7 separate regions of the Homo sapiens genome follow, and all the other regions are linked to region 4. The links are contacts of gene promoters, found by promoter capture Hi-C in blood cells and fetal thymus (Javierre and others, 2016). All regions are on one chromosome and are shown on one strand. The core of a region is centred on a gene start or on the middle of the fragment in contact, and the rest is flanking DNA. Distances in the headings are between cores, read along the strand shown. Region 1 holds the start of IGSF10 (immunoglobulin superfamily member 10). Region 2 overlaps IGSF10 (immunoglobulin superfamily member 10). Region 3 overlaps MED12L (mediator complex subunit 12L). Region 4 holds the start of SUCNR1 (succinate receptor 1). Region 5 overlaps LINC02066 (long intergenic non-protein coding RNA 2066). Region 6 overlaps MED12L (mediator complex subunit 12L). Region 7 overlaps MED12L (mediator complex subunit 12L).

Region 1 (3,398 bases), core at 745-3,244, 410 kb before region 4:
AAAACATTTGGAAACTGTAATTAAGCAGTAAAAAGGAAAAAAATTACTCAATCTCACCACTTATATAATCCTTAAACATGTTGTTGTATTCCTTTCCAGCCTTTTTCATCTATTGTGTGTATATGTATAGGTGTACATACATTTACGTGTATATGTGTACATGTGATCAAACTCAATTTTGTAACACATTTTATCATTTCATATATAATGTTTTTTCATTTTATTAAACCTTCTTCAGAAACATTTTTTAAAGGTTGTAATAATCCACTGGAAGGGAGAATAAATCTCTTTCTAACCGGTTTTCAAGTCCCTGCCAAAAAAAAAGACACATTGAACACTTCACTGCCAAGTAATGACCATAAGCAACAGCGACTGACCAGCTGAGAGGGCTTGAGCCATGCTGACCCTGTGCAGGCATGATGCTGTCTGCTTTTGCTCAGCTTCGGACATCTCTCTGCCTTTTTCCTTGGTCCCTCCTCCAGCTCATGGCTGCCACAGGAGGTGGGGAGCATAACCAGGGAAGAAATATGCTCAGCTTGTCAGAAAAAAAAAAATGGTATCTGTTACCCATATGTGGGGCAAGCCCAGGAATTCAAACCTAATTCTCTCCTGAAATGCAGGATTGAAATAAACTCTTTATTGTGCTTTTCCAAGCAAAATGACCTTCATAATTTGTAATAAATCCCACCGTTCTGTGGAACAGCATGATGTTGGATTCCACCAGCAACCACCCTTTAGCTACAAACTACACTGAGAAATAACACTGGGGCTGAACTGCTTGGATTTTCATACAGATAAAAAGATGATGGATGTATTATTATAATTTAGTCCAAATTAAAATTTAAGATAGGATTAATCATATGACCACTTTTGCCATCGTAACCACCTGGTTACAATAATTTTAAATAAGCTTTGTATGATTGGAGACAGCATTTCCACCTTATCATTAGATAAACAAAGGAAGGAACAGCAGGATGAAGGTAATTCTCTCGTTCAGCTTAAATAAAAGTTCTGGGTATGCCCACGTTCAAATTATTTAAAAGAGGATCAATAGCATAAGACAACACATGAATAAGGGATTCTCACAAACGTAAGGCTGAAAATGTACATAATGAAATAGGAATTGGCAATACCTGAGCTCTTCTTTCAGGTCCTGAGTCCTCTTGTGACATAGGCAGAGACAGAAAATCTTCCCAGGAAATGGAAAATTGTGTCCAAACCTGAGGGAGGAAAAGTTCTCTGCTCCAAAGTGAGCAAAAAGCCTTATTCTTTTTGGCTTACAGCCAGGAGTAATGCTCTTCAGGGAGACCTGGAGCCGCTTCCACAGCTTCAAAGTTCTATAACTCATAACCACATTAACCCAGAAGCGTTCTTTTATTATGATGCTTGCTGTTGCAGAAACAAAAGGCTAAGTGGAGGTTTTTAAATTTCCTTTCTCCTCCCTCAGTAGTGTACTTAATACTCCTTAAAGTTATCACTTGAATATTAACTACTACTAATCACTCCATTTTGCTCCAAAGTCCCAAGAGCTTCTCCTCAAATTGTCTTTTTTGGACAAATCTGTCACAGATGTCTCCATCTATTGATTGTCTTTCCTCAGTGTGTGTTTTTTTTTTTTGCCTGGCACCAGTCACCGAAGAATTGTCGTGTGCTTTCATGCCCCCACCTTCTCCGGGTGCGTCTTCCCTCCCCCACCCTCAGCCCTCCCCGCCCCAGCGCCCGCTTCTGCAGCCACGGTACTCGCTCCATTCCCACGCCAAGCCCCAGCCGGCGTGGGGTTCCAGCCCTTTCCGGGGAAGGATTGGCCGAGGCGCTCACCTGTTTGCCCTGGTGACCAATGGGCTCGAGCTGCCCGGGCTAGGTCCCGGGCTCGGTCCCGGGCTCAGCTGCTGGGGTCGTGCGGAGCTGGTCCGGAGCTCTGGGAGGGAAGGAAGGAAGGCGGAGCGAGGGCGGGGGATGAGCCCGACTTCTGTGTCTGGGGACGCGGCCGGGGCTCAGCAGCACAAGGATGAGAAACGACCACCGGGCCCCTCTTTATGTTTACGAGCGTGTGGGAAGCTAATTCGCCGTGGCTTCACTCTTTAAATTCCCAGGGCTTTCTCCTAGCAAGTTGGCAGGTCCTGGCTGGGTGGCAGAGCAGTTTCAGTGGCCGCCCGTTCATTTCCTCCTTGACCTCTTCCACCTGTTGACAGGTGGGCCTTTTGGTTTAAGGGTTTACGTAAATCGCCGCAGGCTGTCCTTGGTCCTGTGGCTCCCAAAGTTCTATTTGAAGGCTAAGTTAGCGTTAATGACCTGTGATACCTGCAGTGTCAATGTTTTATTTAAACCCCTCTTTTAAAAATAAGTAAATTATATTGCGTATATTTAAGGTATACAACATGTTATGGGCTATATACAGATAGTAAAATGGTTACTATAGTGAAACAACATATCCATCATCTCACATAGTTACCCCATTTTTGTTTTTGTGACACGAGCAGCTAAAATCTACTCTTTTAGCAAGAATCCCAAATACCATACAATTTTATTAACTATAGTCCTCTTGCACATTAGATCTATATAAATGTATGCTACTGTGTATTCTCTGATCTACATTTTTCCATTTCCTTTCTCCAACCCCTATAACCACTATTTAATTCTCTATCTCTGTATAATCGACCTTTTAGAAAAAGATTTCACATATATAAGTGAGATCATACACTATTTTTCTTTTGGTTTCTGGCTTATTTCACTTGGCATAATGTCCTCCAGGTTCATCCATGTGTGACAAATGGCAATATTTCCCTTTTGTTTTTTAACTGCCAAACAATATTACATCGTATATAGATGTCTCAGAGGAATTCTTTTAAATCATTATCACAGAACCGGATTTAAATACTACTATTTCTGCTTGGATTACATTCTCCTTTCTCATCTCCAACCCTACCATCTGGAGGCAGAGATGCCTCCAGAATCACCTCTACCAACTTGCCCACATGTAATATCTCCTGCAATTCTTGGTGGGGCTCCCAATACTCATAAACACTGAGTTAACATAACTAAAATGACCTTGTTTCCTTCCACGTAGTTACATAGCACTTAAGCTTTTGATGACAATTTGCAATGAATGTTTTAGGGCAGTGGATCTCAAGATAGGGTCACGGGTCCAGCATCAGCATTACTTTGGACTTCGTTAAGATCAAAAATTTGCGGGATCCATCCCAGACCCACTGATTCAGAAACTGTACGAAGGAGGCTTAGGAGTCCATGTGTTAACAAGCCTTCCATATGATTCTGATGCAGCTACAATGTGAGAATTGCTGGTTTAGTGAAATAACTTCTGAAAAATGTTTTACAAATACCAACTCATTTCAGCCTCACCATAGCACCAAAAAGCCTAAAAGGAAAGTATTTATGTT
Region 2 (3,378 bases), core at 430-2,929, 430 kb before region 4:
AATAGAAGGTTTCCCAGAGTGGAAGACAGAATTCTTAATAAAGATTAATGCAGAGGCATCTTCAGCCTCTCCAAAGCACAAAACTCACATTTCATAACTCAGCATTTAAAAATTCTAAATCTAAACAAATTTCAATTTAATTTAGGTGATTTTTGATGACATTTGAAAAACTTGAGAATTAACATTTACTTTTGAACTAAAGATCACAAGTTAAATTTATTAGCTGTATTCAGTATCAACTCGTGTCATTAGAAGAAAATCTTCAACTCCTAAGCATGAGTACAAATTCACATTTACTATGTGTAATTTTTTTGCATGGATGTTTTCTATTAATGAATAAACAGATATATAAGATGGAAATTCTCATCCTCATTTTTTGTCCTGTAATGGAAAACCATTGTGTAAAGTCATGCCACTTGCAAAAAAAAACCTCATAAGCTATAATTATTGATTTTTGAAGATATAATTTATATAGAAAGCCAGCTATAAAATGAATATTGAGGCCAGGCACGGTGGCTCATGCCTGTAATCCCAGCACTTTGGGAGGCTAAGGCGGGCAGATCACGAGGTCAGGAGATCAAGACCATCCTGGCTAACATGGTGAAACTCCGTCTCTACTAAAAATACAAAAAATTAGTCGGATGTGGTGGCGGGTGCCTGTGGTCCCAGCTACTCAGGAGGCTGAGGTAGGAGAATGGCGTGAACCTGGGAGGCGGAGCTTGCAGTGAGCAGAGATCCTGCCACTGCACTCCAGCCTGGGCGACAGTGCGAGACTCCGTCTCAAAAAATATATATATTCATATGCCTATAACAGACCAGAGAAAGTGTGTATTTGTATATATGTGTCTCATCACATCAGAATGCGGGGGCCCTGAATATGTTTCACTTGGTGGAGGTCTTAATATTGTGACTTTCACAAAGTGCTTTGTAATTTTAGGAAAGAAAAAATTAAGTACTGATTATAATGAAGTTTAAAATGTCGAATAGGGGACTCAGACGAGTAAAATAACGGAGTGTCTCTCTCTAGAATCTCCACTGCATCATAAAAATTCCCTTCTCTGTTTTGTTTACAGAGAGTGTGAATATATTTATACAATTACTATTTTTTTTTTTTTTTTTGAGACAAAGTCTCACTCTGTTGCCTAGGCTGGAGTGCAGTGGTGCAATCTCGGTTCACTGCAACCTCTGCCTTCCAGGTTCAAGCAATTCTCCTGCCTCAACCTCCCAAGCAGCTGGGATTACAGGCGCCCGGCCACCATGCCCGGCTAATTTTTTTTTTTTTGTACTTTTAGTAGAGATAGGGTTTCACCATGTTGGCCGAGCTGGTCCTGAACTCCTGACCTCAGGTGATCCATCTGTCTCGGCCTCCCAAAGTGCTAGGATTACAGGCGTGAGCCACCGTGCCTGTCCTACAGTTACTATTTTAAAACTGTGCCAAGTATGGAGATAAATGAGATTTTTTAATTCTGCCTAAAATATAAAAACCCTAAGAAGTTGACCCTTTGAGTTAAGCATGTGAAAAGAATGGTTTTTGTATTCAAATGATCTCAAAAGATTAGTTTTTTTTGAGAGAGTTTCCTTTATGTCCAAAGTCTATGTGTACTCTAAAACTGCTGCTAGCCTCACTGTGTCACTTTTTCCATTTCAGAAGTTGTACAGCTAAATACATAAAGCAGATAATTCCAACCCAAAGGTATAGACTTACCTATGCTGCTGGTCGACCACAGCCTTGGATGGTAACCTCCACATTATTTGGGGTTTGGGCTCCCCAGTGGCTGAGCAGTTCAGTAGTAATTTGTCCCCAAAATTCACTTCAGTCCTTTTCTGGGATGCAGCTTCTATCCTGGGGCTGGTCACTCGCTCTTCCATTGTAAGCATTACTACTCTTCGCTCCGAACCAGTGGAACTGGTAGCAATGCATTCATAAGTGCCCCTGTCTGAAGAGGCTAGGTTTCTTATATACAAAGTCCCATTTGAAAATAAGAACAACTTGGAATTGGTAAACTGTAATGGTTTCACTTCAGTGCCATCAGAGAGGACCCAGTAAACGCTGGGCTGAGGAGTTCCTTTTGCAGTACAGGGCAGTTTTAAACTTTCACCCCAAGTGCCTACAATGACTTGCCTCCTTTGCTCTAGAATAACAGGTGGTGCTGCAATGACTTGTATTTTAACCAGCAGTGAATCCTGGCCACCTGGGTTGCTGGCCACACATTTGTAAAAGCCACGGTCATAAATACTGAGATTGTGGAGGACCAATGTTCCGTCAACCGTCACCACAGCCTGCCTACTTCCCTGGGATGATTCTGAGACAACTGTTTGGTTTGCAAGAATCCAGGTAACTGTAGGGCTTGGCCTACCTTCTGCTCTGCACTTCAGTTCCACAGTGCTTCCGGAATGAACTGTGATCTCTTTGGTACGTCTCTCCAGGATCCTGGGAGGATAGGAAACCACAGACAAGGTGACATGAAGGTGGTCTGTGCCAAACAGATTGGATGCGGAACACAAGTACTGTCCGCGGTCCTGAATTTCCACCCTCTGGATGGACAGGGTACCATTGGGGAGAACCTGGACCCTGCTATTCTGTTTCCTCTTAGATAAATCAAGTCCTGAGAAGAAAAAAAGAAAATTATTGCTACGGGTCATCAAAGTTTATTTAGAAAACATAAAGCTATCGTTTTTTGGGCTACTAAGAATACATTTAAATTAAAATGAAAGCCCAGCCCTATGGCTCACTTGTATAATCCCAACACTTTGGGAGGCTGAGGTGGGAGAATCACTTAAGCCCAGGAGTTCAAGACCAGCCCTGGAAACATAGTGAGACCCTGTCTCTACAAACAAAAAATAAAATATTAGCTAGGTATGGTGGTGTGCACTTGTAGTCCCAGCTACTCAGGTGGTTCAGATAGGAGGATTGCTTGAGCCCCTGGAGACATGATTGTACCACTGCACTCCACCCTAGGTGACAGACCAAAAAAAAAAAATTAGGACATCTAGTCTTCAGATTGCTAAAATTATTCCTGGATTATTTTATTTAATTTTATTTTTATTGAGAGAGTTTCACTCTTGTTGCCCAGGCTGGAGTGCAATGGCACAATCTTGGCTCACTGCAACCTCCGCCTCCCAGGTTCGAGCAATTCTTCTGTCTCAGCCTCCCGAGTAGCTGGGACTACAGGTGCCCACCACCACACCCGGCTAATTTATGTATTTTTTTAGTAGAGTAGGGGTTTCACCATGTTGGCCAGGCTGATCCTGAACTCCTGACCTCAGGTAATCCACCCACCTTGGCCTCCCCAAAGTGCTGGGATTACAGACGTGAGCCACTGTGCTCAGCCTGGATTTTTTTATTCACATAATTTTACTTTAAAAGCCAGATGGTTC
Region 3 (3,223 bases), core at 554-3,053, 460 kb before region 4:
ATAGCAATCTCAGTCATTGTATAGATGTTGTTTCCAATGGTAAAAGCTCTCTAATCCTGTTTTGTCATGGAAATACTTATAGTACCTATCTCTTAAATATGTAGAAAGGATTAAATAAGAATATTCAAGTAAACCACTCATTTGATAATTTTACGATTAATGTTATGACTATTATCATTACTATGAGTACTCACTTTCTTAAATCATTTTTTCCAAGTTCTGAGGCTATGTTTCAGAATTTTTTAGGATTGATAATTTATATTTTGCTCTAGTTTAGAATTTCTCATTTCCAAATCACTGAGGAAAGTTACCACATTATTTGTTTACTTACCAGTTTTAAATCTTATGTTGGTGTTTTTCAAGGCTGCAAATACGGAAAGCCTTTTCTTATTAGACCATATGTACTTTTTATCCTAATTAGCATAATATGTCCTTCTGGTAATTTTTTCATCATCAACACATTCTTCCCTGGAGATAAGTGATTTGCTTCTACAACAGGATTATACTTCTTTTTTGGTGACTGGCCACCTCTGTAAAGGAAAAAGTTAATAATGATGAAGTTGGGTTAATTTTTCTTAGAAGAGGTTCTAGAGGGCTAACTGGAGAATCATATTGCAGTCATTGTGATTTGGGTCCAACTTGCGTTGTTCTTGTTGGGATCATGCTACCCAGACCTCTGCTAGGATTCCAGATCCATGAGCATTGTCACTTAGTGAGACATGCCATATGGCAATAGCTATTTATTAGTTGGCTGTAAAGCAGACCAGTAATTGAGGGGATAGTATGCAAACCAAGTTGGAAAAGTACAAAAGATGAAGAAATGTCTAGACTGTCATCATTATCAGGATGAAGTGTTTGGGTGGAGGAAATTTTAAAGGTCATTGAAACAAAACAAAACAACTATTAATATTTTTCTCTCCTCTGTGTCCCACCTTGTGGATGTCTGGTCTGTGCTTTTTCTGTGACTTGGAAGCATTTTCCAAGAGCTGTGTGTTTGAGCCAACCCTGTTACTGACATGATTTCTGAATTTCTGATGTAAATTATGCCAGAAGGTGTCATGGCGACTAGTCTGCCTCTTCCTTTTGGAAAAAAACAAAAAACAAAAAAAAACCTTTAAGAATTCTGCCAGATATCATAAAGAATGAGAGGATTACTACTGAGCAGTCCCCGTCCAACCTGTAGTGTAAGAAGGGATAAAACATGCGGAAGGACAAAGGACATGAAAGGAATTAAAACAGTAAGCAGAAGGGATGGCCCCGGACAGCGCAGTGTGGAATAGACAGCAGTACTGACTGCCAGTGGAAGAGATCCGTAGGGTTGGGGTGGTCCTAGAAGGCTTCATGGATGAGCAGGTTTAGGTCTTGCCCTCAAAAGGACGAATGAGGTTCAGCAAGGTAGAGATGCAGCAGGCAGGTATATATTGTTTTTACTACAACATAAAAATTAGATAAAAGGTATATGGGGGAAACAGATTCAGCAATGCTGTTTTCTTCTTCCTTTTAAGTGTATAACATTTTTACCCTCTTTCCAGATGCAGCAGCCCCAGCAGCCCCAGCCCCAGCAGCCTCCCCAGCCCCAGCAGTCCTCGCAGTCCCAGAGTCAGACCCTTGGTCTCCAAGCAATGCAGCCCCAGCAGCCCTTGGTAAGGCCTGTTGTTTTGGAATCAGACATGTGGGTTTCTTCTTTAAAAGCAGGTTGCATTGTTCATGTTCATAAGATTGTTAAGAATCGACAAAGCCTAAGTATACCCTAAAAATTTTTCCTAGAACTTTACTAGAGTTTTATTGTCATTGTAGTTGGTATATTTATTTTCATAGGAAGATACAAGTAAATATTTGGGATTCAGTAGGTTATACCATTATTCTTCAAAATTTTTCGGACTGTTCCACAGACAAAATTTTTTACATTGAGACGTGGTCTTTTTTTCCTAAACAATGATAAAACGATGATTTACTATGTATGTTTAAAAGAGTGTCTTACCATACTTTGATTTTTACTATAATCTCAAAAACCATGGGCGCACTTTCTAAAATATTATCTATTATCTTCAATAAGAAATTGTTTTTCATTCAGTTAGCACTTGCTGCAAGAGTTTTCATGTAACTCACAGTCGGATAGTTCACTTCTCTAGCTTCATAAATCAAATTTGGAAATGTCATATGCATAGCCATCAAAGTTTTCTAAACCTCAGTCATTTACAACAGCCATATTCCTGTTTCATTAATTACTTTTTTTTAAACTGTCATCTTATTATATTTGCTTAAATAAATGTAGTTTTCAAAGAAGCATTTTATCATTACCATCCATAATTATATCACTTGCCACATATTGGAAATATCTGTGAAAGTAAATACAAAAATAATTTAGAAGGGAATCTCCATTTAACTGAGTGATGTGAATTGCATGAATGAGCCCTACCTACGATGAGCTGGCTGACCGCTCATGTCTCACACTTTGAGAAACACTAGTGTAGACTGCCTTCAGCACAGGATTTTTAAACTAGCTGGTTTCACAACTTGTAGAAAAGGGGGAACAACGTGGTATAGAGATAGTACATGTGGAGGGATCAGAGTAGAGTTAGGTGGTTAAAGAACTGCGTCCAAATCAGATTGACCAGAACATGGTCAACTGGAATAGGGCATCCATAGTACATTTAACAAACTCTGCGTAAGCCAGTTTGTTCCGCTCCCCCAGCTCCCCCCCCGCCTTTTTTTTTTTTTTTTTTTGAGACGGAATCTCACTCGATCACTCAAGCTGGAGTGCAGTGCGATCTCAGCTCACTGCAACCTCCTCCTCCCAGGTTCAAGCAATTCTCCTGCCTCAGCCTCCCAAGTAGCTGGGATTACAGGCACCTGCCACCACACCCAGCTAAATTTTGTATTTCACCATGTTGGCCAGACTGTGGTCTTGACCTCATGACCTCAGGTGATCCACCCACTTTGGCCTCCCAAAATGCTGGGATTACAGGCGTGAGCCACTGTGCCCGGCCTATTCCCCATTTTTAAGTTAATTCTTTTTAATTATGGATCTAGTTTTTCCAGCTCTGATTTAAAAATATATATATGTTTGTGACATTTACTGCAATCTACTTCAGAAAACCTTCTTAAAGTAGAGGTAGTATGTAAAACTGCACTGCCTGCCTACCTATCCAATGTGTATTAGCAGGAACTGGCTGTTACTTAGCAAATGTTGTAGAAGAGATTCCTTTGGATGCACCACTGT
Region 4 (3,401 bases), core at 561-3,060:
TCTAGATGACGTGTTCTATGAAAAAGGAGAAGCATAGACCAATTTTTGTCTTAGCAGCCAGAGTGAGATGGTAGTCAGGAAGTGGGACGAAGAAAGAGGAAGCTCTCGGGAACTCCCACCACCCCACAAAGGGGGAATTACTCTTTTCTTCCATCAGAATGGTGGCAGAAACCTGTGAAATACATCCATTTGTCTTTGTTTCTTGGAAGGGGTTCATGTTAATTTATGTCTAAAATTAACAAGCCTGGCATTGGTTATTCAAATGCTTTTTGCCCTTTTAAAAATATAGACAAAAATAATGTTTTAACCTTTCTTCCTTCTAAAAGTAGAAAAGAATTGCATTACTGAAAAATACCTGTTATTAATTCTTAGACTTTGTTGTGCACAAGGGTATTGTCATTCAATTCTGTAGGCAGTCAAGAATCAGAGTCGGTGCTTTTAGAATCCAAGTACATAGGCTTAAGCTCTGGTCCCTCCCGTTATTGATTCTGCAATCTTGAGAAAGTTAATTGACCTCTCTGAACCTTAGCTTTTTAATCTGCAAAATGAGAAAAATCTTAAATAATAACAACCTCAGAGGATTACTATATGCATTTGATGCATAAAGGTACTTAGTGTAATACCTGCCTGCCACATCACAAGAACTCAACAAATTATAGATATTTTTATTTCATGTAAATGCACATGTTTGTATACATAAATATTCATACATGTATAAATATATTTTACACATGTATATAAAGTGTGTAATATAGACACATATGTATGTATATATGTATGTGTATATATACATACATATATTTTGAGTTCCTGAGTTTTTAAGCTGTCAGATATTGGTGAGGAGAAATGCTTAGTTAGGAGGATGCCTGTAACAGAGCTTCTTTTTGGGCTTCTGCCTGTCATTGCTAACTCAATATTCAACTTACATAGCATTTAAATTGAATTACTGCTGCCTGCACAATTATGGGCTTTCTTAGTATAATCCCTATGCTTCACATCAAGAAGACTGAGTGTTTACTTGAATCTAAACCTAATATAATGCTTGGAAAAAGCCAGGTGTGCTTCCTGTCTGAAATGGTGGTAATGTACTTCCAGATGTTTTTCAGAGCATTGATTGGGATATATAAATTGCCATCTATTAAGGTTATTTTACTTAGCATCTCTCTCCCTAATCCCTAGCTATCTGATGTATCTTTTATGTGTTTCTTGATTTTAAGCACAGAAAATAAAATGGAAAATAACTTGAAGCTCTAGTATCTTTTTGCTAGTACACCAACATAGCATATATCCAGGTTTCCCTTTAAAATTTCAGTTTTATAGTTCCCTCAAAGTTATTGAAAACAGAGGTTTCGTTATTATATTCTCAATACAGAATTCACTAAGAAAATTAATTTTAAAAAAGAAGAAAAGCAGAGGCAACTGTATTCCCAATATAAGCAGTATTTACCACTTCTTATTGTGTAAATATGCAAATAAAATGAAAATAAGGAATGCTTCTCTGTTGCTTTGGTAGTGGATAAAATAAGTTCAACAGTGTTTTTCTAAAAATCTATTTGGTAAATGTGTTTCCTGTGAAATGAGTTACTTGTTTTTTGTCATTCAATTGCAAAACTGCATGTGAAAATAAAATAAATGTGAATGTGAAAATAAAAGCCTCACAAAAATTCCTCTGCATGAACATCTCTGACTGGGAGGTTTGACTGAATAAATTATTCCTGGGCTTTTGAATTATTAATCTTGGCTGCAGGATATGCAAATAGGATATGCAAATAGGACACTGTAATAACCATGTCCAGTGGCACAACACTGGGTCAGAAGCTATATCCAGCTGCTGGCAGAGTTCCTGTCAAGGGATCAAGTCTTCCAACAGAATGGTAAGCTACATGGCAAATTGTGCCTCTCAGTGTATAAAGTAAGGCCAGATTTCCTTCTAAAGGTGACCTGTGAGCAATTAAGGTTTTCAGTATTAAGTGTTTAAATTAATTCTTTATAAATAGATGTAAAACAGCAAAATAATTGAAAAAAAAAAGTCATTTTTATCTCTACGTTTATTTTTCAACAAATTAACTGTCTTCTTTTAGTTGTCAAATACTAATTTTATTTTATGTAAAAGGATTTATTATATTTGCTAACATCTCAACAACTTATATTTCAACAAAATAGTAATTGGATTTACCTAAATAAATATAACTACTTATGGGGAAAAATTAAAGTTCCTAAATGATTTGAAACAATCATGTATTTGATACATACACACACACACACACACACACACACACACACATATACATACATATATATATATATATATATATTTTTTTTTTTTTTTTTTTTTTTTAAGACAGAGTTTCACTCTTGTCACCCAGGCTAGAGTGTCTGAGTGCCAGAGTGACACATTTACAGCATGTGTTGGCTCACTGCAACCTCCGCCTCTGGGGTTCAAGCAATTCTCCTGCCTCAGCCTGCAGAGTAGCTAGGATTACAAGCGCCCACCACCACGCCCGGCTATTTTTTTTGGATTTTTTAGTAGAGATGGAGTTTCACCATGTTGGTCAGGTTGGTCTCAAACTCCTGACCTCAGGTGATCCACTCATCTCGGCCTCTCCAAGTGTTGGGATTCCAGGCATGAGCCACTGTGCTGGGGCATAATATTTTTATGTTTAGAAAATAATGTATTTGGGGGAATTTTCAGGCATCCTAAAAATTAAATTTAACATTTATGTGTGTAAAAATGATATTACCCAATAATTAATTTACTTAGGAAAAATGAAAAATTGCAGAAACCATTTCTATTCTACCTTCCATAACTTTTCAAAATGTGTGTGGTATTCTTAAAGAAGTTAATACACAATTTGTGCCATACTATTACTTTTTAATACCTTAATTTCTGGTGTAATGTATGGAATACATAAAAATAAAGTTACAAATGTTAAATTATTATATCTTTTCAGTGTGAATATATATTTTTGCTCAAATTATTTAGTAATCAAAAAAGTAATTTGTTAAAAAAAATTCTCATGTTACCATGTAAATTTGCCTTAAGGTAGCACTTAAAAGTAAACATTTTACAAATGTTATTTGTTTAATTGTGATGACTATAAAAACAAACAATTAAAAAGCTAAGAAACTATCACATATATATTTTAAAGTAAATTTCAAAAATGCAGATTTTCAAAAGGCTGAATATATTTAAAGTAAAAAACATTTTCAAGTTAAGTATTATTGGTCTGCTTATGTGAGTAAATTAGATATTGCTTCTAGTTCAATAATTCTAACAGTTTTAGATATATTTTTGGACTGGAAACTAAAGATTTCACTTTAATTTCTGCTCTTAAAAAATACCTATTCAAAATAATTCATCCAAATCAGTTACAATTTATTTATCACTATTTCCATTTCCT
Region 5 (3,242 bases), core at 165-2,664, 320 kb before region 4:
GCAAATAAAAAACATCTCAAGGGGTTAGTAATTACGCCTCTGTAATCTATAACCAGATATGCTCTTACACTCAAACCTTGATATGATTCTGCCTCAGTGTAACTTCTGAGCAAGTTTAATGTGATTTCACACATACTGAACCCTCACTACTTGTATATGAGCAGTGGGATGAAATACTGGGCTGCAGCAGTCTGACGGAACTGCTCTAGGGCTACAGAGGCCCCGCTGGTTAGTCCTCAGTAAGAATTCTGAGTAAAACTAACTTTCATTCTTTAAAAGCTTGATCTTTATTTTTCTGTAGCCAGTGGTGTGAATTTTGCCAAATGACATGTATGCTAATCAGATTCACAGGAAAATTACAAAAAAATATTTAGAGACTTCCATGGGTAAAAGTACCACTAACACAGACTAAAACGATGTGAGACTACCCAAAATGTATGAAAGTCTTTGGAATCATAACTTTCTTTGTGGAAAACTAAGCTGAAGAATGCACTCAATGAGCACACTTTCCCTTGCTCTCTCATGGGAGTTTTGATGAAACAGACCAGTTATGCTAAGGAAAAGGTTATGTTATGGAACAGGTTTTCTGCTTGCATATTGAAGTCATGCAAAAAATGGAGAGAAAAACTGAACAAGATGTAAGAAGCTTTAGTAAACAGTAGCCAAATTTGTTAAAGAAATACAGTAGAAGGGAAAAGAAGAGAGTAAGGAAGAGAGAGAGAGAGAAAGGAGCAGACAGAGTCATGGAATGTGTTTCAAAGAAAAAAGATTTCAGTACATAGCACTGGAGAGTAAGAAGAATGCTGACACAATCTCCTCTCCAGCCTTTGAGAGGATGGTAGGGGAAATGGTAGGTAAGTTTCAGATTAAAGATGTAGAGAAGCTTGATTGTTAAGTAGTTGTGCATAGGGAGGATAAGTTCCTGTTTTCATAGAAGTCATGTTTTATTGCTTAATGCCTTGGGATCCTGTCTGGCTGACCATTCGTTCTGTCTATAACATGCCAGTTTGGATAACCATTTCTCTGGTCATCTTACACAAATGATCGTTGTAAAGTCTTTTAGAAGGAGAGGAAGAGTGGGAATTTCGGTTTGTGAGGAAAATGTTTATTTGTTCAATGTATGAATGAAGGAGAATAACAAAAGGTGCGGTAAGGGGAGAAGGAGGATGAAGAGAGTTTTAGGTTTGTTGGAAAGTTCAAACATTTCCTCTGAAGGTTCAATAACTGAGTCTGCTGAAATAAACTGACAATAGACAGGTTAACAGGAAAAAAGCTATACATATTTATTATGTGCACTTGTGCATGGGAGTCACACAAAATATGTGACTCAAACAAAGGCCAGATGGTTGAAGCTCAAACACCCTTCCTCTTCATAGGAGAGCTGTAGGCAATGTTAGGGGAAGAGTAAATAAATTTAAGAGAGGTGAATGGGCCTGAAGAACAGACAGTTGTCCAGGACAAAGTTCTCCTGGCCTCTGGTGTGGTGCCAACTCCAGTCTTCCTTCCTGTGATATGCATCAATTTCCTTTAGTTGATGAGAATATGTGGGGAAGAAATTTACAGAAGTTGACTATCTTCTGAAAGATCTGGCCTTTAGTTAGACGGAGGAGCCTCAGAAAAAGCCCTTCCCTTCCCTGCATTTGCTACTTCCCAGATGCTCTCAGTTTGCATACAAAGGGGCATATTATGCAATGATGTTTTCTGAGCCCCCAACAAGTTATGTGAGTGACCCAAGATCCTTAGCATGTAAGATAAAGTAGCATTAGCTGGCTTTAAGGATTCCATTAGTATCTTTGTGGATAGACTTCCAATCTCTCTGGAAAGAAGAGATTCTGCTTCTAATACAAGAAGAGTGAGTGGACTGCTTAGTTTCCCTGTGTGCAAATAGTGGCACTCTCCTAGTCTGGGATCGTTATTTGCTACAAATGATCTCTTTGTTTATTACTAAGCTTAACATTTCCCCTAAGTTTAATGTTAACTCATCTTCAGTATATTGTCTACATTTTAGAGACATCTTCACAAGTTGGGGTATAGTTTTTCTTTCTTATTAAAAAAACTCCGTGAGCTGTATTTCATGCCTTGCTGCTTAATCAATTTTAACAGATGCAAAGCAAATATAAAGTATATATAATATATATATATAATATATATATTGGTACAATATGTTTGTCAGAATGATTCTGTTAGGAAGAGCTTTGGAGAATTCTAGTGGATAGATTCTATTTTTCATGTATAATCTTTACGTACAGTCACAGGTTTCCACCTCCTGAATTTTAGGAGTGTAACACTGAAGCCAAAGTTGGCAAAGTTTCATTTAAAAGACATGAGATATGAGAAAGGCCTTAAGTGTCCAGTTACAGTAACCCAACAAAAAGAAATCATTTCCATTTCACTGAGCAGAATAAGTCAGGTAGATTTAGAAGATGCAATTGCCAAGTTCTTCGGGTTAATTCTAGTCACACTCTCGCTTCAGGTTGGCTTTACTATCACAGAAATTACCCAGGCTTGATGGGAATAAATGGAATGAAAGACCACAAATGTAGGTCATGCCCATTCAAGACACTGCCAAGCACATACTCTTGCTATACTATTGGGGTTTAATAATTGCTGTCACATGACTTCAGAAGTATGCCCCATGAATACATTTTTTTTTTTTTGAGACCGAGTCTTGCTCTGTTGCCAGGCTGGAGTGCAGTGGCGTGATCTCAGCTCACTGCAACCTCAGCCTCCCAGATTCAAGTGATTCTCCTGCCTCAGCCTCCCGAGTAGCTGGGACTATAGTGAATACATATTTTTCCTACTACTTGATGCAGAAGTTGGCCTAAGGAGGTCACACACTGAAATCCCAGAGCTTGCCAATGAAAATGTTTGGCATAGTATGGCAGAACTCAGATTTGTCATCTCTGGAGGGGTCACCTTTTGACTCATGGTACATGTGATTTCATTTTTGAGCCAGAATGAGTCTGTTAGGAGGAGTTTTGGAGAATTCTAGTGGATAGATTCCATTTTTCATGCACAATCTTCATATACAGTCACATGTTTCCACCTAGTAAATTTTAGAAATGTAATGCTGAAGCCAAAGTTGGCCAAGCTTCATTTAAAAGACATGAGACATGAGAAAGGCCTTAAGGGTTCAGTTACAGTAACCCAACAAAAAGAAATCATTTGCATTTACACTGAGGAAAATAAATCAAGTAGATTTAGATGATTTAACTTCCAAGTTCTTTGGGCTAATTATAGTC
Region 6 (3,182 bases), core at 658-3,157, 500 kb before region 4:
TTTACATCACCTAACGGTAGTGAAAGCATACTACATTTTGGTACTTGCAGAATTTAGTCTTTTCTTTCAGCTCCTGAAGTGATCTATTAAATGAAATCCTGTGGGTAAAGTGAAGCTGGTACTCTTTGTGTTTGTATTTTAATGAGAAACATATGATTATATATTGATAAATTGAAATACATTATTTATTCCTCTCCTCTGCTTAAGATTTTGTTAGTAAATACTCAGTAAGCCATTTTTTTCAGCAAAGTCAAAACTTTTTCTTGGTTGACTTGTGGGTTTTAAAAGGCTTTTTCCATTAACTTGGGCATTGTTTTGCCCACTTGCTGCAAGCAGTGAAGGCCTACTGTAAAAGCATTTGTTGGTTCCAGGAAATTTTCTTGTCAAGGCCTATGATCCTGTGAGTAAAAGGCAAAAGTTTGAAGGCTGTGCTGTCATTTGGCAATCCTTATTTTGAATTTTTATTACTCTCTCACTTTTAAAATATGATAGTTATTTGTCTCTCATGGCTAGAGTTTTCTTATTTCTAGCTATTCAGACATTCTGTTTAGTTTCTTTCCCAGAACTTTGTTATGAAGAAAACACTTTCCTTAGCTTCATTTCACTAAGTATACTAAAGATTTATCAGGTAAGGTTTTCTAATTTGTATGTTACAGAGAGGAAGGTAAAAAAACAGGGGTTATTCAATGAATGCCCTACTTTTCAGGGCTTCCTTAGTATGCATTGCCCTTTTCCATTCCCAGGGAAATAAATCTCTCTTGTCAAGAAGTTGATAGTAAGGTGGGCTAAGGCAAAACTTTTCTCTTGACCTATGGATAGAAAATAAGTCATTGTAAGAGAAGAAATGGAAAAGGGACATCTAGAAGGGTGAGTAACCCATTTTTTCCTTGTCTATAAGTCAAATGAATTTGAATACATTCATGCTTGAAATATTGGTGAAACCAATGTTCTCTGATTACTTAGTGTGATTCATAATGGCCTTTCCAAGTTTGGTGAAACTATAATTATACAAACAAAATAAGGACCGAGTCTTGAACTTGCTTTTTCTCCATTTCTGTTAGAAACTTCTCTGGGTTCATGCATTTATGCTCTTGATCCATTCTCTCTATTCCTGAACAACTGGCTATTCAATAATAATACTGTTCATATATTTTAAATCCCTGAATGCTATCCTCATTTGCTCCTCAATTATTTGGCAATATTTTGAACTTCTGTGATTTTGCTTTTGTGATTCTATTACTTAGGAGATGCCAAAATTGGCAATAACAGTGTCAGCTCTTTAAAGAATGATGACTTCACCATGAGAGGTTTGCGATGTGATGGGAATGCTGATGATATCTGGACTGCCTCACAAAATCCAAAATCCTGTGGGAAAAGCATTTCCATAGAAACTGCCAATTTAAGAGAATACGCTAGATATGTACTGAGGACTATCTGTCAACAGGTATTCTAATTTAATTTGCCTTTTACTTTGAGTACGTAACTCTTCTTTTGGAGAGAGCTACTTACACTTATAGGAAACTTGTGCATAGGTGGGCCTTTTTTTCTTGCTCACTTTATTTCGAAATAATTTTAAGTTTGCTGAAAAGTTGCAAGAATTATTTTTAAAAAACTCATGTCCATCCTTTACACGGATTTACTAATTTTTACATTTTGCTACATGTGCTTTGTAATTTGTATGTGGAGATGTGGGTGCATATACCTATTTTTTCTGAATCATTTAAGAGTAGATTGTATATTTTATTCTTTTGAATATTGCATTATTTCATAACATAACCAAAATATAGCTATTAAACATCAGAAAATTTAGCTTTTGGTACAGTAATTTTTTCTCATCTATAGGCCACAGTTCGATTTTATTAATTGTCCCAGTATTGTTGGATTTGTCTGAGGTTTCCTGTAGATTAGCTTCAGATTATGCATCCCTGGCCAAGATACTACAGAAATAATCTTGAGTTCTTTCAGGTAATCATGTCTGAAGGCATGTGATGTCCATTTGCACCTCAAGGGTGATGTTAATTTTGATTAAGATGTTTCCATTGTATAGTTTCAAGATTAGTAACTATACAGTGGGGACTGTGTAGTTACTAATTTTCCCCTTGCAGTAAGCAATCTTTGAGGAGATACTTCGAGACAGTGCAAATTTTCTTCTCCTTGTTTAACTCCCCCACCCCTCATAAGCATTCATTTTCATTCTTGCCCAGTCTAGTCTTTACTATGATGGTTGCAAAATGGTGGTTTTTTTTTTTCCCCAACTTCTCCTCTCCCTTCATAATATCAGTTTGTGTCCTATTTTAAGGAAGAGCCTGCCCTCCTCTCCCCTGTTTATTTATTATCCATATGGGTTATAATATACTGTACTTAGTTATTTTCATGTTCAGACTGTCCCAGATTTGTGCAGTAGGAATCTATTCATCCTATCACATCATTTGACATTTTAAAAATAGTTGGTATTTTCATAGTTTCTGGCCCATGTTGTACTTTCTCTGCCCCGGGCCTGGAATCAACTATTCCTCCAAGGAGCCCTTGGTTCTATTTAGCAGAGAACGTTACTGAGAAACCAAGATCTGGGTATTATGTATGCTCATGGTTATGGAGTATCATTAATTCTACGACCTGTCTGCAGACAAAGCTAGAAAGAAAAATATATCCATACACTTAAATATATGTAAATATATATATTTATGAGGTCCTACTGATACCTTCAATTCCAATCCAACCCCACAAAGTTGTTCTGTGTTTTCCCCTAATTCATATTAGTATCACCTTCTTCCCTAGTAAGAATGCTGATTCCCAAAAACGTCAATTTACTTGTTTGTTTAATTCTATGATACATCTGAAATAGTTTTAAAATGTTACACATGGCCGGGCATGTTAAATGTGCTATCCAGCGCTTTGTCAAAAAATGATTAATTAAAATACAGTATCAAAAATGTACACTAGGCTAGGGCGCAGCGGCTCAAGCCTGTAATCCCAGCACTTTGGGAGGCTGAGGCAGGTGGATCACTTGAGGCCAGGAGTTTGAGACCAGCCTGGCCAACATGGTGAAACCCCATCTCTACTAAAAATACAAAAATTAGCCAGGTGTGGTGGCACATGCCTGTCATCCCAGCTACTTGGGAGGCTGAGGCATGAGAATCGCTTGAAACTGGGAGGCGGAGGTTGCAGTGAGCCGAGATTGC
Region 7 (3,110 bases), core at 511-3,010, 480 kb before region 4:
AGGATAAGTTTTGTTATGACAGTTCTCCTAACAGGTTTCTGCATTAACTGAATGGCACACAATGACTTGTCACAGACAAAAGATTAAAGCTTTTGATTTTCCGTCCTCCACTTTTAATAATTTTATTTTAATTGTAGGCTTCCATTGTAATATTTAATTAATATTTCAGTGCCTCCTAATTTCCTCGGGTTTGAAACTTGAAATTTTTAGAACTATACAATCCCATTCTCTCACATATTTTTAATATGTCTAAAATATTTATTGTATTTTAAGTGGTTGATATCTTCAGTAAATTAACATAAAAAGCTCTATTTGGTTTTTCTTTGATAAAACTTGGAGTTAGCATAGCCAATAGGATGTTCCTGAGATTTTATGTTTTACTATTCCATCTTACCCTCATATATTTTCCTTCTTTACCATGTTTTCAGACTTTATAAAAGATGAAAATAAGCCTAATTTAAAATAGTTTTACTTCTTGTTTCTCTATTAGTGTTCCCCACGTATAATAATCTTTTCATTACAACAGAAATCTATTTGATGGTGATTTAGAAATAATTTTATAAACCTTGAGAAGTAATGCATAAAATGTTTTTCTATTTAAATTAAATTAAAACCTGGAAAATATTTGATAGAGGATTTGAGACATTTTTAATGAAATTCCACAGCATTCTTGCTGCACAGTGGAAGAAATATTCACCATTTCATTCAGATATTCATGATTGGTTATTGTTTACCTATGTGAGAACTAAAATACATCTTTTCCTAGCTGATAGCTTGGTGATTAATACTATTTTAGAAATGACCACCACCACTTTAGGATGCCACTTGAGCATCAGTGCCCCCTTCTCATTCAGTCTTCCTACCAGTATTCCTTTGTCTTGAAGGGAAGTTTAAAATGGTCCAGACTGACACTCCCTCAAATTTGGGGTTTCCAGCCTGTCAGTCCACGTGGATGGGCTTTTGTTCTTTTCTGATGAAAAAGCCCTGAAACCAATCCTGCTCCCCAGGTCAGTCTGGTCATGTCCCCTCTTCCTCTATTCTTCCTGAAGCTCCCTCTTTTCAATGAGATATGCTCTTCAGTAAAATTGCAGGGAAATGAGATTTTGTTTCTCTTCCATCCTCTAGGGCTAGACTAGATGAGGGAAGGTAGGGAAATTGAGACCTTCAGGTGTGATCCTTACAGGCTTTGCAGCTACTATAAGGAAGAGGAAGCATGGGGGATGAGGGGAGTGTCTACTTCTTTAGAACGATGTCTGGAAAATTGCAAGTGAAATACCATCTTGGCCAAAGAGTGGTTCTGAAGCACTGTAGGGCTCTCTGGCGTAATTCTCCAGACCCAAGATATTGGAAAGGCCTTCTAAGATGAAATGATCATGAGTCTTAGCAACTGAAGGTGCTTTTTCAGTGATGAGTGTCGTTCAGTATTGGTATTCCTGACACACTTGTAGTCTTTTGAAATAGAATTCAGAAGAGATCCTTTTCCATCTCTGCCCACTGCAAGCCAAGCACTGTTTAAGTCAAGGAAAAGTTTACCTCAAATGAATATTTCCAGGGGATTTATTAGCACTCTTCCTTCCATCTTCTCCTTTATAAAAAACAGCTTTGTACATTGGGATAGGAGGTACCTCAGATAGCTTACTGAAGTTATTTGCATTAATTAGCTGTGTGATATGTGGAGTTACGTAACTTTTTAAAAAACTTTATGTTGAAGGAATATCCACAGAGCAACATATACCGAGTGCCTCCTAATTACTCGCCTATCTCCTCCCAAATGATGCACCATCCACAGTCCACCTTGTGGGGTTACAACCTCGTGGGCCAGCCCCAGCAGCCCGGCTTTTTCCTTCAGAACCAATCTCTTACTCCAGGTATGTGATGAGAAAGCACAGATCACTCAGAGATGAGAAACAGCTTGTGGTTCTCTTTGCTTTTAACCTGAAACCTCCACAAAACTTGGACATTTCAACCACTGAGTGCTCAGTTGACATTTCTGTAATTCCCTTCACACAGAAATGTTTTTTGTTTTCTAAAATAGGTTAAATTACGAGTTTATGTACTGATTTTGGAACTTTTATTTAGTGTTAAAAGGAAATTAGCTAGTGATGAAAATCTAAGCTGTAAGATATAAAAGTTGATAACGGTTTTATGTTATAAAATGTGTGTATTTTTATCAGATATAATTCTTATTGGCATTTTAAAAGATTACACAATATTGCACAGTGTCTTTTATTGTTCTGAATTATCATGACAGCTAAGAAAATTGGTTCAGCAAGATTTAGATAACAACAAGGAAAACTACCATAGTAAATGTTCCTGATTTTAGTATTGCTTTGGTTCAAGCCCAAGTAGATTTCTCGTCCCAAATGAAAATTTTCTAAATGAAAACATCTCTTAATGAAAAATGAATTCAATTTTCTTTCTATATGAAACATTGCATGTTTTAGCATATTTAAATTATTTGAAATCTGTCAGCATTGTTAGGATGTGCCATTTTAACAAATAATTTTTTAAATTTTTCTATTGTGATTTTTATTATAACTTGAGTTTGACATTTTGAGGTCTGTGGAAGAAAATGTTTCATTTATGGCTTATAGCAGGGGGAAATCCATATTTTGTCCTCTAAATTAATGGTTAAAGGAACTGGTCTGGTAGTTAAGCGTTTTAGATTCAAATCTGGTTCTACCACTCTCTTGCTGTATAATCTTGGCCAAATCTTAATTTCTCTGTGCCTCATTTTGGTCATCTGTAAAATGAATATGCTAATACCTATTCCCATAGGGTGGGTGATTCAGTTATTTATTCAAGAATGTATTGAGCTTCATGATACAGTGGACCCAGTTTTGGATGCTAGGATATTGCAGTGACTAAAGTGTGCAAAATACCTACTTTTTAAAAGATGAAATAAAGTTTATGTTACACACACATACATATGTAAGATTTAAAAGTAAATTGTAATAGTTATATAGCCTTTTGAAGGTAGCCTGACCCCACAGACATGTTCAGTAAGTGATCTTCACATATTCCTAGCTCAGGGCATTTGTGCTTGCTGACCCCTGTGCCTGCAGTGCTCTCCCTCAAATATCTACATCACTTCCTGCCTGTCTCCGTTG

The links. The method cuts DNA at HindIII sites, captures the fragments that hold promoters and counts their contacts. A CHiCAGO score of 5 or more calls a contact.
Region 1: a fragment that was not itself captured here is called in contact with the fragment with the promoter of SUCNR1 in region 4 in 2 of 17 cell types (endothelial precursors and megakaryocytes); the score reaches 5.8 in endothelial precursors.
Region 2: a contact is called between a fragment that was not itself captured here and the fragment with the promoter of SUCNR1 in region 4, in 1 of 17 cell types (M2 macrophages). The highest score is 5.2, in M2 macrophages.
Region 3: a fragment that was not itself captured here is called in contact with the fragment with the promoter of SUCNR1 in region 4 in 1 of 17 cell types (neutrophils); the score reaches 6.0 in neutrophils.
Region 5: a fragment that was not itself captured here is called in contact with the fragment with the promoter of SUCNR1 in region 4 in 1 of 17 cell types (monocytes); the score reaches 6.5 in monocytes.
Region 6: a contact is called between a fragment that was not itself captured here and the fragment with the promoter of SUCNR1 in region 4, in 2 of 17 cell types (M2 macrophages and monocytes). The highest score is 6.8, in M2 macrophages.
Region 7: a contact is called between a fragment that was not itself captured here and the fragment with the promoter of SUCNR1 in region 4, in 2 of 17 cell types (M2 macrophages and monocytes). The highest score is 6.2, in M2 macrophages.

What each region holds. Positions count from the first base shown.
Region 1 is chr3:151,459,128-151,462,525 of GRCh38, forward strand. IGSF10 (immunoglobulin superfamily member 10) reads right to left here and starts at 1,934. Exons shown (of 8, transcript NM_178822.5): 1 at 1,819-1,934; 2 at 1,134-1,220. The HindIII fragment of the contact is 2,173 bases long and covers 909-3,081 here.
Region 2 is chr3:151,441,279-151,444,656 of GRCh38, forward strand. It overlaps IGSF10 (immunoglobulin superfamily member 10), which reads right to left. Exons shown (of 8, transcript NM_178822.5): 7 at 1,706-2,606. Among named protein-coding and RNA genes, the nearest start is that of IGSF10, 18 kb to the right of the region's middle. The HindIII fragment of the contact is 9,167 bases long and covers 1-3,378 here.
Region 3 is chr3:151,414,780-151,418,002 of GRCh38, forward strand. It overlaps MED12L (mediator complex subunit 12L), which reads left to right. Exons shown (of 45, transcript NM_001393769.1): 43 at 1,533-1,643. Among named protein-coding and RNA genes, the nearest start is that of P2RY12, 32 kb to the left of the region's middle. The HindIII fragment of the contact is 4,689 bases long and covers 1-3,223 here.
Region 4 is chr3:151,871,833-151,875,233 of GRCh38, forward strand. SUCNR1 (succinate receptor 1) reads left to right here and starts at 1,811. Exons shown (of 3, transcript NM_033050.6): 1 at 1,811-1,874. The region is part of intron 1 of AADACL2-AS1 (AADACL2 antisense RNA 1); the gene reads right to left. The HindIII fragment of the contact is 8,098 bases long and covers 1-3,401 here.
Region 5 is chr3:151,555,876-151,559,117 of GRCh38, forward strand. All of the region lies in intron 1 of LINC02066 (long intergenic non-protein coding RNA 2066), which reads left to right. It also overlaps a transcript of IGSF10 not described here. Among named protein-coding and RNA genes, the nearest start is that of LINC02066, 5.3 kb to the left of the region's middle. The HindIII fragment of the contact is 1,066 bases long and covers 882-1,947 here.
Region 6 is chr3:151,371,323-151,374,504 of GRCh38, forward strand. MED12L (mediator complex subunit 12L) reads left to right here. Exons shown (of 45, transcript NM_001393769.1): 27 at 1,245-1,444. The region is part of intron 1 of P2RY12 (purinergic receptor P2Y12); the gene reads right to left. Among named protein-coding and RNA genes, the nearest start is that of P2RY12, 12 kb to the right of the region's middle. The HindIII fragment of the contact is 7,321 bases long and covers 1-3,182 here.
Region 7 is chr3:151,388,268-151,391,377 of GRCh38, forward strand. MED12L (mediator complex subunit 12L) reads left to right here. Exons shown (of 45, transcript NM_001393769.1): 38 at 1,712-1,868. Among named protein-coding and RNA genes, the nearest start is that of P2RY12, 5.1 kb to the left of the region's middle. The HindIII fragment of the contact is 3,347 bases long and covers 88-3,110 here.